3 separate regions of the Homo sapiens genome follow, and all the other regions are linked to region 2. The links are contacts of gene promoters, found by promoter capture Hi-C in blood cells and fetal thymus (Javierre and others, 2016). All regions are on one chromosome and are shown on one strand. Each heading gives the region's core, a stretch centred on a gene start or on the middle of the fragment in contact. The rest is flanking DNA. Distances are from core to core; before and after follow the strand shown.

What was found. Contacts are between HindIII fragments. The CHiCAGO score rates a contact against its expected background, and 5 or more counts as called.
Region 1: a fragment that was not itself captured here is called in contact with the fragment with the promoter of MBD2 in region 2 in 1 of 17 cell types (neutrophils); the score reaches 5.9 in neutrophils.
Region 3: a contact is called between a fragment that was not itself captured here and the fragment with the promoter of MBD2 in region 2, in 1 of 17 cell types (non-activated CD4 T cells). The highest score is 7.3, in non-activated CD4 T cells.

The regions. Positions count from the first base shown.
Region 1 is chr18:47,912,703-47,916,086 of GRCh38, reverse strand. All of the region lies in intron 1 of SMAD2 (SMAD family member 2), which reads left to right. Among named protein-coding and RNA genes, the nearest start is that of SMAD2, 16 kb to the left of the region's middle. The HindIII fragment of the contact is 1,025 bases long and covers 1,468-2,492 here.
Region 2 is chr18:54,223,053-54,226,120 of GRCh38, reverse strand. MBD2 (methyl-CpG binding domain protein 2) reads left to right here and starts at 1,452. Exons shown (of 7, transcript NM_003927.5): 1 at 1,452-2,103. The coding sequence starts at 1,562. RefSeq lists enhancers at 1-68, 69-611 and a silencer at 1,362-1,751. The HindIII fragment of the contact is 9,949 bases long and covers 1,086-3,068 here.
Region 3 is chr18:59,352,605-59,356,137 of GRCh38, reverse strand. It overlaps LMAN1 (lectin, mannose binding 1), which reads left to right. Exons shown (of 13, transcript NM_005570.4): 2 at 480-634; 3 at 718-825; 4 at 1,558-1,619; 5 at 2,837-2,936. Among named protein-coding and RNA genes, the nearest start is that of LMAN1, 4.9 kb to the left of the region's middle. The HindIII fragment of the contact is 2,400 bases long and covers 456-2,855 here.

The sequences.
Region 1 (3,384 bases), core at 731-3,230, 6.3 Mb after region 2:
GCATTAGAAAACTCGTAAATGAAATTCATCATGTTAACACATTAAAGGAGAAAGGCCATATGATAATTTTGATGGACAACGGGAAAGCATATGATAACATTTAGTACTTGTTCATGACAAAAATTCTTAGGAAATGAATACAAGAGAACTTTCAAAAGGGTGTTAAAAAACACAGAAGAGTACATACGGTATAATTCCATCTATATGAATTTCTGGAACAGGTAAAATTAATAGTAATAGAAGTCAGTAGTTGCCTGACGGGGGAAGGTGGATTGACTGAAAAGGAACGTAAGGGAGACATCTGAGGTGCTGGAAATGTTGTTTTTTTGGGGATTGTGGTTACATTAGTGTAAACATTTGTTAGAATTATTGATTTCATGCCCACTCACGGTTCGCGACCCTCAGTTTAGAGAAATTGTAGAGTGCAGCATATGGTGAAATGTCTTTTTTAGCAAAGTGTGTGTGTATATACTAGGTTGCATGTAAAATGTACTTTTCACTGTGGGACTTTTTTTGGTTAAAAAGTTTGAAAGTTTGAAATTTTCTGCCCTAGAAGAGCTTTTACATGGTATAAAATGATATATACCAGCCTATTCATAGCAGGTTGTGAGAGAGGAAAATTGGAAACCTAACTAGTCATCCAGAGTGAATGGACAGTGAACTGTGCTAGTCATAAAATGGAATGCCATGTGACAGCTAAAATGAATGAACTAGGATTTAGGATTATGTATGTATCAGCATGGACTGAACAGTATCACACTTTCATATAAATTTATAAAATGTACAGAACTGTATTGTATGGATACAATATGTAGCAAAACTGTTAAATGACCATGGGGGAACATCAGGATAGTGATAATCTCTGAGAAGCAAGAGGGAGGGAAATGTTATCAAAGAGGAATACATAGGGGGCTTTAGCTGTATTCGTATCTTATTTCTTATGTCTGATCAAGTACTGCAAAATGCTAAGATATGACAGCTAGATGGAAAGTACATGAGTGTTGAGTGTAATATTTTTGTGTAATTAAAGTCCCCATTTACAATAAAAACCAAGATACCTGGAGAAATAAGTAAATTTGACAAGATGTAAGATTTTTTATGGAGAAAATATGCAACTTATCAATAGATAATAAATAAATGGAAATACTCATTTGCATAGTCGGAGTACTTGATATCATAAATATGTTCTCCATAAACTAATATAAATTCATTGCACTTCCAATCAAAATCCTATAGGATTTTTGTAGAACATGCTAAACTTAAAGTAACCAGCAATACTACACATCTGAAAAATAAGGAAGGGGGGTCACCCTGACAAATATCAAGACTAACTAGAAAGCAGTAGTAATTAATATTTTCTTACATTGATGTTAAGTGTGAACAAATAACAGAATGCGTGTGATCAGACCTTTAGTAGGAATTTGTTATGCGACAGAAGTGGCATTATGACTTAGCAAAAGGTAAGCTTTAATACACAGGCTGTCCTTATGAGAGATGGTTAGATCACTGTCTCACCTCTTAAAACCAAATTTCTGATCTTTCTTTTAGAAACTTAATATGAAAAGTAAACTAAAGCATCCATAAGAATATCTAGAGGGGATTCTCTGTATTACGTCAGGGTATTTATTTGTGCCTCACATTCTTCATTTGTAAATAATAGTACCTAACCCCAGTTGGTTCTTAGGATTCGGAATTCTTGCTTACTGGACTCTTAGGCTTAAGCACTCAATAAATGTTTCCTACTATATTTAGAGGCACAGCAAGATTTCTTTGAAAAGCAAGGTTGTGGCATAAAAGATTTTTAATTAAAATACAGCTTTGTGTGTTCCAAAAGACAACATAAAATGAAAAGTCATTCTAAGGATTTGGAGATTTTTTTGTAATACATACTCAGTGATAGGGTTTATGTCAGAATAAAAACAGTAAGAAAAGGACCACATAGTTGAGGACTCTGGAAAGAGTATGCACTGTTGTTTAATTAAATGTGCAGAGAATGCTATTTGTCAAACTATAATATAGAGTTAATAACTTGAAGGCTTTACTACAAGTTCAGGATAATTAGACCTCTTACCTTATTGAAACTTTCCGGTGAGTAATCGTAGAATCCTAATTTTACTAAGGTATCATTTGGTAAGCTGACTTATTCAGCTGTAAAGATAGTCTTTGTGTTCTTTTGAAATCTGCATTATGTAAGTATCACTTATTGCTGGAATTAGAAATAGTGTCTGAACTTAGATTTCAATTCTTGCAGATGTTGAAAATTTATTTCAGTAGAGAACTTGCTGCCACACCATTGAAGGAAATCTGTATATTCTGTAAATGACTCATTCACGTTTTGATAGCAACTTGATTATAAATCTAGTTTTCTTTTTTGTATTTCATTTGTTTTTAACCTGGAACACATTGTTATCTGTTCCTTGTCAGCCTACATTCAGTCTATTTACACTTCAAAAATATTGGCTAAAAATGCTTCAGTTTTTAAAATAAAAGCTTAACTAATTGAAGATGTATTATCAGCATTACTTACAACAAATGTTATTTTATTACATAATTTAAAAATTCTCCGGAGATATTAGACAGATGTCAGCCAACCATGGTTACTGAGACATGCAAAGGTAAGGCTGGCAACTTTAAGTGTTCACTTAGTTCCAAAATGGTTTTAACTCCTCTTGTAAGACATGGGACACTGAAATCATGTGGCAATACCAGGTCATGTGGCCATTCAGATGACCCAGAATAGGCCTAAACTTAAGTTAGTTTCATTTCAGTGAAGAAACAATATTGTAAAGGTTTTATAGAAAACTTTTAGATCCCCAGGAATACAGCTTAACTCATAAGAAACATTTCTCCTAACGAAAGTGTAACAGGCTGGGCGCTGTGGCTCATGCCTGTAATCCCTGTGCTTTGGGAGGCCGAGGCGGATGGATCATCTGAGGTCAGGAGTTTGAGACCAGCCTGGCCAATATGGTGAAACCCCATCTCTACTAAAAACACAAAAAATTAGCCGAGCGTGTTGACGCGTGCCTGTAATCCCAGCTACTCCGGAGGCTGAGGCAGGAGAACTGCTTGAACCTGGGAGGTGGAGGTTGCAGTGAGCTGAGGTCACGCCATTGCACTCCAACCTGGGCAACAAGAGTGAAACTCCTCAAAAAAAAAAAGTGTTACAGAAACTGTTTACTCTCATTCCTCCTAATGCTGGAAATCCCTTTTTTTTTTTTTTTTTTTTTTGCTGTTTATACAGAAGTTTCATTTTTTATTCTTTTTTTAGGCTAAATTCTTATGAATGGAATAATTGAACCAAAGATACAGATACTTGTAGGGAGATTCTTTTATTTTGCTTTTTCTATCAGTTTTTCACAAGGAACAGAGAGATTACTCATGCTA
Region 2 (3,068 bases), core at 203-2,702:
GAGTCTCGCTCTGTCTGCCAGGCTGGAGTGCAGTGGCGTGATCCAGTTCACTGCAAGCTCCGCCTCCCGGGTTCACGCCATTCTCCTGCCTCAGCCTCCGGAGCAGCTGGGACTACGGGCGCCCGCCACCACGCCCAGCCAATTTTCTGCATTTTTAGTAGAGACGGAGTTTCATCGTGTTAGCCAGGCTGGTCTTGAACTCCTGACCTCAGGTGATCTGCCCGCCTCTGCCTCCCAAAGTGTTGGGATTACAGGCGTGAGCCACCGCGCCCGGCCCACAGATGACTTCTAAATGAATGTCTCCAGTACTGATCTCCTCAGAACTCATTTCTTGATGATTTTTTACATTCACATTTCTAAATTTCTTGTAGGAAACCACAAATTAGTGTCTTTCAACTAAAGGACATTAAAAGAAGACTAAGGTCAGGTTTAGAGACAGACAAGTTTGTGTGTATGAGTTAATGTTTGCATATACTGCAAAGATAAACCAAATTAATTTTAGATTTTTGTTGCTTTATATTAATCAACTTTTTCTATACGTTAAACTTGGTCCTCAGTTTTTAGGGCATATGAGTATAGAAACCCAAGATAGCTTATCATCAGGCTGATAACATGTGCTTTACATTTTTCAATCTTCCAAATATTTCATAATATATTATCTTGAATATCAATAGCACACTTCTATAAGTGTTCGACAACTTATAGAAAATATGCATTTCTAAAATTCAAGTTGGCAGACCGAAAAGAATACCACACAGTTTCCTAAAGGCTTGTGACAGTAAGTTAGGCTGGACTTTCAACATAATGGAATATTTACCAAATAAAAGGCCACTGATTTTTGTATTAGACAAAGACATCTGGAAATTTCTAGATGGATTTAGGGATTCTGGTCATTCTAAGGAGAATCTAGAGGTAAGCCCCATCTGACTCATGGGCATATTCCAAGTTATCATTTCCTTTCCTACATCCTTACAAGGTTCCAGGAGAATCTGTCAATGGCTCTGAAGCCAGGCTCAGGAGGGAACTGGTATTCAGCGAATGGGACACTTTGCTTCATTCCTTCATTATAAGCTCCCCTGCAAGCTTTGTGCAGAGGGGCGGGAAAAGGGGCTATCACCCCCTTAAATGAATAGCCGAGTTGGTATGTAATATAAGATCTATTTTGCTTGTTATTCATTAATTGGGAAGCAAACATAGGTAAAATCACATAATGGTGGAGGTTACCCCGTTTGAAACAAACTAACCACAGTCACTATGACACCCCCAGCTGGTGGCTAGCCCGACCAACCTTCCCAGCTCCGCGCGCCCAGTGGGGGCCGGAAAAGCGCGGGAGGGGGCGTGGCCCCGAGAAGGCGGAGACAAGATGGCCGCCCATAGCGCTTGGAGGACCTAAGAGGCGGTGGCCGGGGCCACGCCCCGGGCAGGAGGGCCGCTCTGTGCGCGCCCGCTCTATGATGCTTGCGCGCGTCCCCCGCGCGCCGCGCTGCGGGCGGGGCGGGTCTCCGGGATTCCAAGGGCTCGGTTACGGAAGAAGCGCAGCGCCGGCTGGGGAGGGGGCTGGATGCGCGCGCACCCGGGGGGAGGCCGCTGCTGCCCGGAGCAGGAGGAGGGGGAGAGTGCGGCGGGCGGCAGCGGCGCTGGCGGCGACTCCGCCATAGAGCAGGGGGGCCAGGGCAGCGCGCTCGCCCCGTCCCCGGTGAGCGGCGTGCGCAGGGAAGGCGCTCGGGGCGGCGGCCGTGGCCGGGGGCGGTGGAAGCAGGCGGGCCGGGGCGGCGGCGTCTGTGGCCGTGGCCGGGGCCGGGGCCGTGGCCGGGGACGGGGACGGGGCCGGGGCCGGGGCCGCGGCCGTCCCCCGAGTGGCGGCAGCGGCCTTGGCGGCGACGGCGGCGGCTGCGGCGGCGGCGGCAGCGGTGGCGGCGGCGCCCCCCGGCGGGAGCCGGTCCCTTTCCCGTCGGGGAGCGCGGGGCCGGGGCCCAGGGGACCCCGGGCCACGGAGAGCGGGAAGAGGATGGATTGCCCGGCCCTCCCCCCCGGATGGAAGAAGGAGGAAGTGATCCGAAAATCTGGGCTAAGTGCTGGCAAGAGCGATGTCTACTACTTCAGGTACCTCCCTGGGGGCGGGGAGGGGGTGGCGGGGTCAGGCCGGGGTCAGGGGTCAAGAGCGGGCCTGGGCAGAGGATGAGCGCTGGGGCCCGGGGGGCATGTGGCAGGGACAGGCTGGTTTGGTGGTGGAAGGTGGCGGAACCCTTGGGTGAGAGTTGACCCCAGTGCGGTGGGAGGCAGTGTCAAAAGGTGAGGGCCCGCAGGAGGGCATCTTATGTGGAAGGCGTCGGGGAAGATGGTTTGCGAAGAAAGGGTTAGCCTGGCAGGGATGGTTAGTCCACTGAAGGGTTAAAAGGAGGTGTAATTCATCGAAACTATAAAACCCAGTCACTGTTGGCTCCTGTCCCAGCCTGTCCCAGATTCATCATCACAAGTGTTAAGCATGCACATGTGGAAGAATGAGCTATCTACAGTAACAAGGTTTCATTTACTTCATCCAAGAAAGTTTTGTATAAAGCAGCTATTTGGAATGCCTGAAGTTTTTTTGGAACTTCTTGGTATTGCAGAATATACTCTTTTGAAACTGACACACTGTACTAAGTTTTTAGACTCCTAGACCAAAATTTGCTCCCCAGGGAACATTTGTCAATGTCTGGAGACATTTTCGGTTCTCACACCTGGGGAGGGTGTGATACTGGCATCTAGTGGGTAGAGGCCAGAGATGCTGCTACATATTCGATAATACAAAGGAAAGCTGCCACAACAAAGAATGATCTGGCCCAAATTGTCACCTGTGCTGAGGTTGAGACATCCTGTTTTAAATGATTCAAGGTTTTTCACCTTAGTGTAATCTTGCAATCCCGTGGTCATGCTGCTGATGTCTTCAGTTTGTGTGACCCAGTAAGCTCAAGAAAGTGCCTATGGCAATTGACATCCGTGGACTTAATACACATTTACTAAATTTTGTAATAAGCCATGCTATTGATAGAAGATAATATAAACTTGTATTCAGTAGTTTGGAGGTA
Region 3 (3,533 bases), core at 406-2,905, 5.1 Mb before region 2:
GTAAACATATGGTGAATCCAAGAGAATAAGAGAATTATTTGCTCAAAGTCACACAGCTGAACTGAGACTAGGAACAAGTCTCTTGATTCCTAGTGGTATGTTCTTTTCACACTGTTTGAGCTTTCTAACCTTTGCAAACAGGTAAAATACGTTGCAGCTTTTCTAAAAATACAAATTTTTAAGGTTTTTAAAAAGAATGTTATGAGACTCAGATAGTTTGCCTTAAAGTCATAATTCCCTTTCTCTCACCCACTGTCCCTGTAATTTTTAGTGTATGAGTGTAGCTTTAATTTTTTTTATTTGATAAGGGAGGTGTTAGCCCTAAACTTTTAAAGTTAAAACTGTCAACATGAAATTTTTTCCAAATCATTATTGTACAGGTTACTAAGTCTCTGTAGGTATATTTAGCAGTTTGGAAATGATCATTGAGTTTTACCTAATTATAACTTAAAGCTTTTTTCCCCTGATTTCTGTTCTAGATGCTATTCCAAGTTCAGATCAAATTCGAGTAGCACCATCTTTAAAAAGCCAAAGAGGCTCAGTGTGGACAAAGACAAAAGCGGCCTTTGAGAACTGGGAAGTTGAGGTGACATTTCGAGTGACTGGAAGAGGTCGAATTGGAGCTGATGGCCTAGTATGATCATTTCTTTAACTTAGAAAATGTGCATAAATGCATATACCACTAGCCTCTAACTGTTCCCTATTACATATTTTCAGGCAATTTGGTATGCAGAAAATCAAGGCTTGGAGGGCCCTGTGTTTGGATCAGCTGATCTGTGGAATGGTGTTGGAATATTTTTTGATTCTTTTGACAATGATGGAAAGGTATATTTATTGTCAGGACTGTTATCCACTTTAATACATCTATCAACAGAGTTAGGCTGTGAGAAATAATAGCTTATTCAATGCTTTCATCAGTTTGATAGTACAGAACTCCCCAAGCTATATGGTAAATGTGATAATTAGTCTTTATATAGCTAGGAATGTATCAGTTTAATTTACATGTGCATGATTTTTTGTACATCAGCTTGAGGGCATAGTAGAGCCCTGACTCTCAGAACTTTGCAGTGACCCCTGCTCCCATGGCCCTATTTAATGGATAAATACAAATCCTTAGACGTAGGTGGTGAAAACAGTAGTGTTTAGGAGACTCTACTAAACACTTACATAAGCACATCCAAGTCCATGACTAATGCTAGCTCACATATTCATGTCTGGTCATATGTTAATCATTCTTTTTGATCGGGCCAATTTTTCTGATGATCTCTCCTAAAACAGTTAAGATCAAAATGTACTTACAAATTGGAAACATTAGCTTGTGGCTTAACAGCCTTAAGGTTGATGATCTTCCCATCAGCTGGTTGTTTCTCTATTAATTTTCAGGGGTTATTGTTAGCAATTTAAAGAACTTTAGTAATTCCTTGAGTGCCAAGGCCAGGTTATTTTAAAATTTTGAGTCCTAGAATCTTAGATATGTAAGTCACTTCATAGTACATCAAGAATGATGTAGAATGCTTTGATTAAAGACATTTTTTAAAATGTTTTCCTTTTTTTTAGAAAAATAATCCTGCTATAGTAATTATAGGCAACAATGGACAAATCCATTATGACCATCAAAAGTAAGTGTGTGTTTTTTACATTACTCCTGATTTCAGCTTCTTTTTGGAATCCTTATGAAATACATTGTTTCAAATCTGAACACCTTCCAAATGAAAAAAATACTGTTCTTTTTCTTGAGACATATTTTGTAACTTGGTAGAAAGGTTTTATTTTATTTGGTTCTGTTCTGAAGTTCTATCTGTGGACCATCTCAGATTCAACCATGGTATGTGTTTTTAATTTAACCTCAAATTATTTAATAATATACTTTTGAAAGTTTATAGACTGTTCCTGGCTCTCAGTGATGCCACTAATCATGCATTTTTATCTTCATTAAAAGGGATCTTTAAAAAATAAAGTTGAGCCTTGATTATTAAGGCTGATGATTAAGCAATTTATGCCATCTTATTTAACTTCAATATTGTGTTATTTAAAGACTCAGTGGTTTGCAGAGATTCTAAGTGTTCAGTACAGTCAACCCTCTGTATTTGTGGGTTCCGTATCTGTGGATTCAACCAACTGCAGATCAAAAATAATACAAATTATTTTGTGTACGCAACAAGAATACAAATTTTAAAATACATTGTAACAACTATTTACAAAGCATTTACATCATATTAGGTGTGATAAGTAATCTAGAGATGATTTAAAGTATACAAGAGGATATGTACACGTTATATGTAAATACTGTGCCATTTTATATAAGGGACTTCAGCATCTGAGGATTTTGGTATCCACAGGGGTCCTGGAACCAATGTCCTATGGATGTTGAAGGATGACTGTATATTTATAATGTATATAAATTAGGTATGTACATTTTTTATTTTCACGTGTTTGTTGTGGAGGAAATAGCTTTTAACCAGTGAACTGTAAGAAAGGTGACTTATCCATGTGCCTGTTTACTGTTTTTCTGCCTTAGTGAGTTTCAGCCCTGGTAGTTCATCATAACTCCCTATGGAGCTATTTAAAATGGAGGTGCCTAGGCCACCTCCTTTTGATTCTGCTTCAGTTGATTTGGAGTGGAATCTACATGTTAAAAGCCCAGAGAGTGATTCATGTTCTGCCCTAGGGTAGAGATTCACTGCCTTAGTCTCATGTAGTCTCGTGTAGTCTTTTGAGTAAATAACATAAAGTATCTCAAGACTTTTTCATAACTTGATATTATTTTAGTCTTCCTGAATTTTTAAATATTGAAAAGCTGAGTGTCTTGTCTGTTTTCCTCCCCCTTACACTATAGTGACGGGGCTAGTCAAGCTTTGGCAAGTTGCCAGAGGGACTTCCGCAACAAACCCTATCCTGTCCGAGCAAAGATTACCTATTACCAGAACACACTGACAGTAAGTAACATCTATTTAGAGAGAATCAAATAAACAATGTTACAGTATCACTTTTCATTTTGAATTTTTGATAGAAATTAAATGCACTTAAATTTGGATATGCTTACATACTCTTCATTGTTACTCTAAGAGAACGGAGGTGGCTTCACAGCTCAGTGTAAGTGGTCATCTGTTGTAAACCCCTGATGGTATGTTTCCATTTAGTCAGTAAATGTTTAAGCCCCCTACTGTATAGCACATGTGAGAGATATATATATCTATAGATAGATAGATAGATAGGTAGATAGATAGATAGACGGATAATCTCCAAGCCTTCAGGATACAAATATGAGTAAGACAGATGGACTTTCTCCCCAGAGAGCTTATAGCCTAACAGAGGACACACAAATGTATCATTCCTATGCTGTGTGATAAATGCTGCGTTGCAGACACTATCAAGCGGTCCTGTGGTTAGAATCCTGTAACTGCCAGGTGGAGGTGGGGAAGGGCAGGAACATTTTCTCAGAGTTGAGCTGTGCCCTACAGGGAGATCAGGAAGTTCCTGGGAGTTGGGGGAAGAGGGTGTGTGTGTGTGCGAGTGAGTGGGTGTACTCCAAG